Linked DNA regions of Homo sapiens: region 1 is linked to region 2. Evidence: promoter capture Hi-C in 16 types of primary human blood cells and fetal thymus (Javierre and others, 2016). All regions are on one chromosome and are shown on one strand. The core of a region is centred on a gene start or on the middle of the fragment in contact, and the rest is flanking DNA. Distances in the headings are between cores, read along the strand shown.

Region 1 (3,771 bases), core at 97-2,596, 110 kb after region 2:
AACCTTCCCATAAGAATATGGAGGAAGGCCGGGCACAGTGGCTCACACCTGTAATGCCAGCACTTTGGGAGGCCGAGGCGGGCGGATCACCTGAGGTTAGGAATTCAAGACCAGCCCTGACCAATATGGTGAAACCCCGTCTCTACTAAAAAAAAAAAAAAAAAAAAAAATTAGCTGGGCATGGTGGCGCATGCCTATAATCCCAGCTACTTGGGAGGTGGAGGCAGGAGAATCGCTTGAACCCGGGAGGCAGAAGTTGCAGTGAGCCAAGATCACACCATTGCACTCCAGCCTAGGCAACAAGAACGAAACTATGTCTCAAAAAAAAGAAAAAAGAAAAGATAAAGAATATGGAGGAAAGGCTTCATGACATTGGATTTTGCAGTGGTTTCTTGGCATGACATCAAAAGTACAGGCAACAAAAGTAAAACAATTAAACATAAATTACTGTACATCATAAATTAAACATAAATTAGAATACATCAAAATTAAAAACTTTTGTGCATCAAACAGTAACAGAATGAAAGGCAGCCTATGGAATGGGAGAAAAATGTTTGCAAATCTTATATCTGATAAGGGATTAATACCCAGAATACACAAACAACTCCTATAACTCAACAAAAACAACAAAATAGCCCAATTTAAAAATGGGTAAAGGACCAGTTGCAGTGGCCATACCTGTAATCCCAGCATTTTGGGAGACCTAGGTGGGAGGGTCACTTAGACGCCAGGAGTTCAAGACCAGTCTGGGCAACATAGCGATACCCTGTCTCTAAAAACTTTTTAAAAACTGGGCAAAGGGCTTGAAATTTCTCCAAAGAAGATATAAAAATGGACAACAAGCATATGAAAAGATGTTCAACATCACTAATCATTAGGGAAATGCAAGTCAAAACCACAGTGAAGTATTACCCTCATACCGGTTAGAATGGGTACTGTTAAAAAAAGAGAAAACAACAAGTGTTGATGAGGATGTAGAGAAATTGGAACCCTTATGCGCTGTTGGTGGGAATGTAAAATAGTGCAGCTGCTGTGGAAAACGGTATGGAAGTTCCTCAAAAAATTAAAAATAGAGTTACCATGTTGATCTAGCAGTTCTACTTGTGGGCATATAACCAACAGAATTGAAAGCAGGGTCTTGAAGAGATATTTGTACACTCATGTTTGTAGCAGCATTATTAACAGCAACCAAAAGGTGGAAGCAACTCAAGTGTCCTTCAATAGATGAATAGATAAACAAAATGTGATATAAACGTACAGTGGAATATTTACGTTTTAAAGAAAAATTCTGGCAGATGCTACAACATGGACGAACCTTGAGGGCATTATACTAAGTGAAGTAATCCAGTGACAAAAAGAAAAGTACTGTCTGATTCCACTTATATGAGTTATCTATCCAGAGTAGTCAAATTCATAAAAACAAAGTAGAATAGAAGTTGCCAAAGATTAGGGAAGGAGGAAATGCTTAATGGGTATAAAATTTTAGTTTTGCAAGATGAAAAAGTTCTGGAGATTGGTTGCACAACAATGTGAATATACTTAAAAATAGTGAACTGTGCACTTTAAAATAGCTAAGATGGTAAATGCTTTTTTTTATCCCCCCACAATTAAGCGTTTTTTTTAAAACTCAAGGAGAAAACATTATGTAGTCAGAATGTTCTGAAGTGGTCACTATAGTCTTTACTATAAATGAAACTGTTAAGTGATTAAAATGTTGTATCTTAAAATATGTTATATAATTTTTTTAAACCAGAAAAAAGTGTAACATTACAGAAGGAAGAAAAAGTATAATGCATTGCTTTTATACTGGGCTTTGTATGCTTTTAAACTTTTTCACCTGCCTATAGTTACATACGTATAAAAAGCATTTAAATTTAGTAATAGCTATATTATACATTTGTATACATATATATTCTTGTTTTATATTTTATTACAAATGGAATAAGACTCCTGAAATTGATAAATTGTGTATAAGCTAGTAAAACTGAAGTCCAGATCAAGTGTAAGAATAAATTGACGTGGCCAGGCACGGTGGCTCACGCCTGTAATCCCAGCACTTTGGGAGGCTGAGGCAGGCGGATCACGAGGTCAGGAGATCGAGACCATCCTGGCTAACACGATGAAACTCCATCTCTACTAAAAATACAAAAAATTAGCCAGGAGTGGTGGCTAGCGCCTGTAGTCCCAGCTACTCGGGAGGCTGAGGCAGGAGAATGGCGTGAACCCGGGAGGCGGAGCTTGCGGTGAGCAGAGATAGCGCCACTGCACCCCAGCCTGGGCGACAGAGCGAGACTCCATCTCAAAAATAAATAAATAAATAAATAAATAAATTGACATTATGTATTCTTGGTGTGTTTTTTTTTGAGACGGAGTCTTGCTCTGTCGCCCAGGCTGGAGTGCAGTGGCGCAATCTCGGCTCACTGAAAGCTCCGCCTCCCGGGTTCACGCCATTCTCCTGCCTCAGCCTCCCGAGTAGCTGGGACTACAGGCACTCACCACCACGCCCGGCTAATTTTTTGTATTTTTAGTAGAGACGGGATTTCACCGTGTTAGCCAGGATGGTCTCAATCCTCTGACCTCGTGATCTGCCCACCTCATCCTCCCAAAGTGCTGAGATTACAGGCGTGAGCCACTGCACCGGCCTATTCTTGGTGTATGTTACCTATGACTGAGATCCTGAAGATGAAGAATCTTTAAAATGTTTATGCTTTGGGGGTTGGGCATGGTGACTCACACCTGTAATCCCAGCACTTCGGGAGGCCGAGGTGGGCAGACCACTTGAGGTCAGGAGTTTGAGACCAGCCTGACCAACGTGGTGAAACCCTGTCTCTACCAAAAAATACAAAAATTACCTAAGCGTAGTGGCACGTGCCTGTAATCCCAGCTACTTGGGAGTCTGAGGCACGAGAATTGCTTGAACCCAGGAGGCAGAGGTTGCAATGAGCCAAGATCGTGCCACTGCACTCCAGCCTGGGCAACAAAGTGAGACCGTGTCTCAAAAAGAAGAAAATATTTATGTTTTTGGTCCAGTAATTCTACATCTAGGAATTTAACCTAAGGAAATGTGTAGAAGCTTGCTTAACCCTCTCCAGACTAATTGATGCTCTCCATTCTGTTTGCATATATACTGAATGATACAACTGGTTTCTTGTTCTGTGGTGTGGTCTCACACATTGCTCCCGTCAGTGAGTGGGCCTTGTCAGTGCCCTGCAGCCACAGACCACTAGGAACACACCTATAGTTGAACACGTTGGTTCATTACTTGTGAGGGAGGATGCACACCATGCGAACTGTGGAGTATCTCAGTAAGAGTGTTAGGAGGAATATTTTATAGGACTTGTGCTTGTATTAGGTGATTTTGGGGAGTTTAAGAAAGCAGAGCTTTCTCGATTGGATGCTGTTAGGATGTGGGGTGATTGATGTTTGGGTATCTTAATAAATCTTATTAGGACGTGGGCCAACTAGAGTAGAGTGAGACCAAAGCTAGAACTGGTAGAGAAGCAGCAGTCACTCATATTAGCCAGGAGAGGGGGATGTTTGGTATTTTGTGAAAATGCTCAGTGACCTTGTTTTTTTCCTCTGGGCTTAGACAAAAAAAAAATTTTTTTTCTTTTTTGAAATGGAGCTGGGGTGCAGTGGCGTGATCTCAGCTCACTGCAACCTCCAGCTCCCAGGTTCAAGCAATTCTTCTGCCTCAGCCTCCCAAGTAGCTGGGATTACAGGCGTGAGCCACCGTGCCCGGCCAGACAAAATTTTGAAGTATTTTTGTTT
Region 2 (3,721 bases), core at 863-3,362:
TCCAGGAACAGGCCTGGAAGCTCCGCGCCCTGACACCCTGCCCTATGTGTCTCCTCCGTTTAGCTGTTCCTGAGTTGTGTCCTTTATATAAAAAACCAGTAATAGTAAGTAAAGTCCTTTCCTGAGTTCTGGGAGCCATTCTAGCAAATTAGTAGATCTAAAAAGGGAGTTGTGGGAACCCCCGAATTCATAGCGGGCCAGTCAGAAGTCAGACCTATGATTGGTACCTGAAGTCGGGGGGAAGTCTTGGGGGACTCAGCCCTTAACCTGTGAAGTCTGCCCTAACTATGGATAGTGTCTGAACTGAATTGAATTGTTGAACACCCAGCCAGTGTTGGGAATTGGTGTCAGAAAAAACGTGGCAGTGGTAGGGAGCTTGTGGGGTAGTGGGGGTCCTTCTCTTTGGGGTTGAGAGATACCACTAGTGCCTCAATTCAGTTTCATCCTGAAATTCAAAGGCCTTCATGACCCTGCTGGGAATCTGACCACCGTTTTCCCACTTATTTCTGGGTTACAAATTCACACCCAAACAAACTTCTGGAACATGACCATTTATCCTATGGCAATTAAAGGACTTAAGGACTATAGACATCCTGCATGCCCCACCACGCATCCCTGGGCTCACCTGGATTTTGAGCCTGAATTTTCTGATGCCAGAGAAAGCTTTAAGTGTATTCAGAGCTTGGGTTTTGACACTGTTGTCCTTGTCATCCAGCATGTAGCCCAGCAACACGATGTCATCCGTAGTACAAGCAGAGGCCTGGAGTATTGGGGAGAGATGGAAGAGGCAGGAGAAGCGGGTGTTCTGGGCCCACTGCCCCCCATGTCACCAAGATCCCTCCGCACACCCCCCCCCCACCGCTATCAGCCAGAGAGAGGTCCCAGGATATAGTCTGGCCATTCCAGGGGCAGGGATCGGCCGTAACCCCCAGGGGCCAGGCCGGCTAGGGGGGACCTCCTGCTTCCCTTACCTCAGCCTCCAGCAAGTACACACAGCGAGTGATACTGTGCAGGATCATGCTCTTGGCATACTCATCCTGTTTGCACTCCAAAGAGTTGAGGAGCCTCCGGAGCTCACCTGAGTCCCGCCCGTGCCGCTCTCGCTCGACTGCCAGGCCTAGACAGCCACCCCAGCCCAGTTCAGGCTGTGGACTCAGAAGTGATGAAAGAATGGGGTTGGGAAGTAGGGGACAGGGACTTGGGGACAAGGCTGCCTTGCCTTTTCGGAGAAGCCTTCTCGCCATATGCAGGACCACCATGTACAGTTGAACGAATGTTTACTGCACAAGGGCACCCTATCTAATGTTGTATTGTCCATAACGTACCATCATAGATTTGTCCATTTACTCTAACAACTGTCTGGCATATGGCGGTAACAAGTAGTATTTCATCATAACCAGTATGTGGCAATGATATTCCAGCAGATGGCAATAAAGAGTCTTGCAGAAGGGGCTCATTTTCCTACTCTGCACAAAAGAACATGTGGACTAGTGGAAGCTCTGGGCATATAGTAAGTCCTCCAATCTTCCCTTTCCTTAAAGCCTCACGTTCCTAGGGCAGAAAAGGGATGGGGGGAGCTGCCGACACCAAGTTTCCAAGAAGTGGAATCCTGGGAGCCAGAGGAAATGTAGTATTTGGAGACCTGCCAGATGAGTCTGAGGATCCACTTGAGTGAGATCCAGGGACCCTGAGCTAGCATCTCTGGCAGGGCCTTGCCTAGGACGCTGCAGGGTGGGCTTGAGGAAGATGGACAAGAGAAAGACAAAGGAAAGAGGAACTTGGAGGCATCACCTTTGGGCCCTCCCACAGCAGAGGCCTCGGGAGCAGGTGCCTCCTGGGGCAGAGCCCTCTCCCCAGGGCCCGGACACTCACGGGCGATGCAGATGGGTGAGTTGCTACAGAGGGGTGGTTTGCATTTTATGCCAGCCTTGATGGCCTTGTAGAGCAGGTAGATCGCCCCGGCGCCTGTGGCCAGGCTGACTACGCTTTTGCGGATGTCCAGTTGCCCCAGGTATTGGGGGATGCTCTTGCCCATGTCTTCAGTGTTGCCCTGGGCCCAGGTGAGAGCTAGGCCCAAGGCACCTGTGGGGGGCCTTCCGGAACCAGAACTCTGGCAGGGTCAGGAACCAGGGTACCAGAATTGGAACCTAGGCAACAAAGGAAACTGGGGAGATAATGGGATGGAGGGCAGTGGTCAGGAAATGGGGCAGCCAGGAGTGCTCGAGAACAGATGGGGCCAGGCACCATGGCCCACACTTGTAATCCCAGCACTTTGGGAGGCCAAGGCAGGCAGATCACTTGAGGTCAGCAGTTCGAGACCAGCCTGGCCAATATGGTGAAACCTTGTCTCTATTAAAAATACAAAAAAATTAGCCAGGCATTGTGGCGCACACATGTAATCCCAGCTACTCAGGGGACTGAGGCAGGAGAATCGCTTAAGCCTGGGAGGTTGAGGTTGCAGTGAGCTGACACGCCACTGTACTCCAACCTAAGCGACAGAGCAAGACTCCATTTCAAAAAAAAAAAGAGAAGGTTCTGCTTTAGAGACCACAGGAGATGAAGCATAAGACAGAAGGGGAATAAAAGGGGAGAGGGCAGAAGTGTCCTTCACATCTCCTCTTCTTTAAGGGGGGACCCCAGCAGGTAGCTCCAGAGGCTGCCTTTCCACCATTAGAGGGCAGCAGAGGTCCATTTCCGGGCTGGGGCCTTAGGGCATTTCTGGGTGAGGTGTTTGGGGTATGCCCATTGACAACCCTGTTCCTTTTCTTTCCGGGCCCTCCCATATGTGATCTCTCCACCCTAGATCTACCCCTGGGCCTTGGGGTGTTTCTTCAGGTAGGGTTCCCTCCCCGCATCAGAGGATGAAAAGGAGGGGAGTATCTTAGAAAGCATGCACAGACTCTTGAGGCAAATCCACCCTTTTCCAGCATCTGCATGTTGCCCTGAAGTTTACCTGTTTGACAAAGTGCTCTTGAGGACAGCTACCTTTGCATCTCCAGCATAGAATCTTGTACTTAGCAGGTGGTTTAAGTCATGTTCTGCCATTCTTTAAGGACTTGGCGGCAGAACAATGACAGCATCTAGTAACTGGGGCTCCAGACCCTTCTAACCAGAGTGACCTTGGAGGAGAAAGGGATCGCCTTTGCCTTAGTCTGTTTCTGCATTTGTAACCTAAAGGGATTCGGATTTACCATTCTAAAACTCCAGGATTAAAATGTGGGTAAGTCTGTGCCTTTCAGCTAAATTTGGAAGTATCACCTCTCAGCCTCCCCAGGGATATGAGGCGGCTTGTGAGGTCCTCTGGAGTCAGAAGATGCCACCACCCCAGAGGATGTGAGCCCACCTGTGGAGGTCTTGATCCCCACCACTAGGATGGGGCAGGTGAGACCAGACCCTTCCCTCTTCCCCACCAGGGTCTCCCCGCAACTTCTGTCCCCACTCTCTGTTGCAGAACAGGCAAGTGGCCAGCTCCAAACTAGGGCCACGCCCACAGCCAGTGCTGAGCATGCTGCACCAGAACAGGTGTTCACCTACCTGGCCCTGATCCCTTTTTGGGAGAACTGGGACAGAAGGCTCTGGGTCCTGGGCTGCACCCAGGATGGAAGGAGGTAGGGAAACAGCATCTCCAATGATGCTGCGGCCAGCCAGGCCTGCCCACTCAGAGCCTTGGCCCAGTACACCCTAGGCAGCAGGCAGGGAACAAGCAACACTCCTGGGTGGC

Evidence for each region. Contacts are between HindIII fragments. The CHiCAGO score rates a contact against its expected background, and 5 or more counts as called.
Region 1: a contact is called between a fragment that was not itself captured here and the fragment with the promoter of ARMC12 in region 2, in 8 of 17 cell types (naive CD4 T cells, non-activated CD4 T cells, activated CD4 T cells and 5 more). The highest score is 14.1, in naive CD4 T cells.

What each region holds. Positions count from the first base shown.
Region 1 is chr6:35,624,328-35,628,098 of GRCh38, reverse strand. All of the region lies in intron 3 of FKBP5 (FKBP prolyl isomerase 5), which reads left to right. Among named protein-coding and RNA genes, the nearest start is that of MIR5690, 39 kb to the left of the region's middle. The HindIII fragment of the contact is 3,458 bases long and covers 1-3,075 here.
Region 2 is chr6:35,735,423-35,739,143 of GRCh38, reverse strand. It overlaps ARMC12 (armadillo repeat containing 12), which reads right to left and starts at 2,112. Exons shown (of 6, transcript NM_001286574.2): 1 at 1,873-2,112; 2 at 972-1,117; 3 at 626-760. The coding sequence starts at 2,035. It overlaps LOC285847 (a long non-coding RNA gene), which reads left to right and starts at 2,197. Exons shown (of 10, transcript NR_027117.2): 1 at 2,197-2,303; 2 at 3,266-3,381. RefSeq lists enhancers at 1-6, 615-1,223, 1,224-1,832. The HindIII fragment of the contact is 11,422 bases long and covers 666-3,721 here.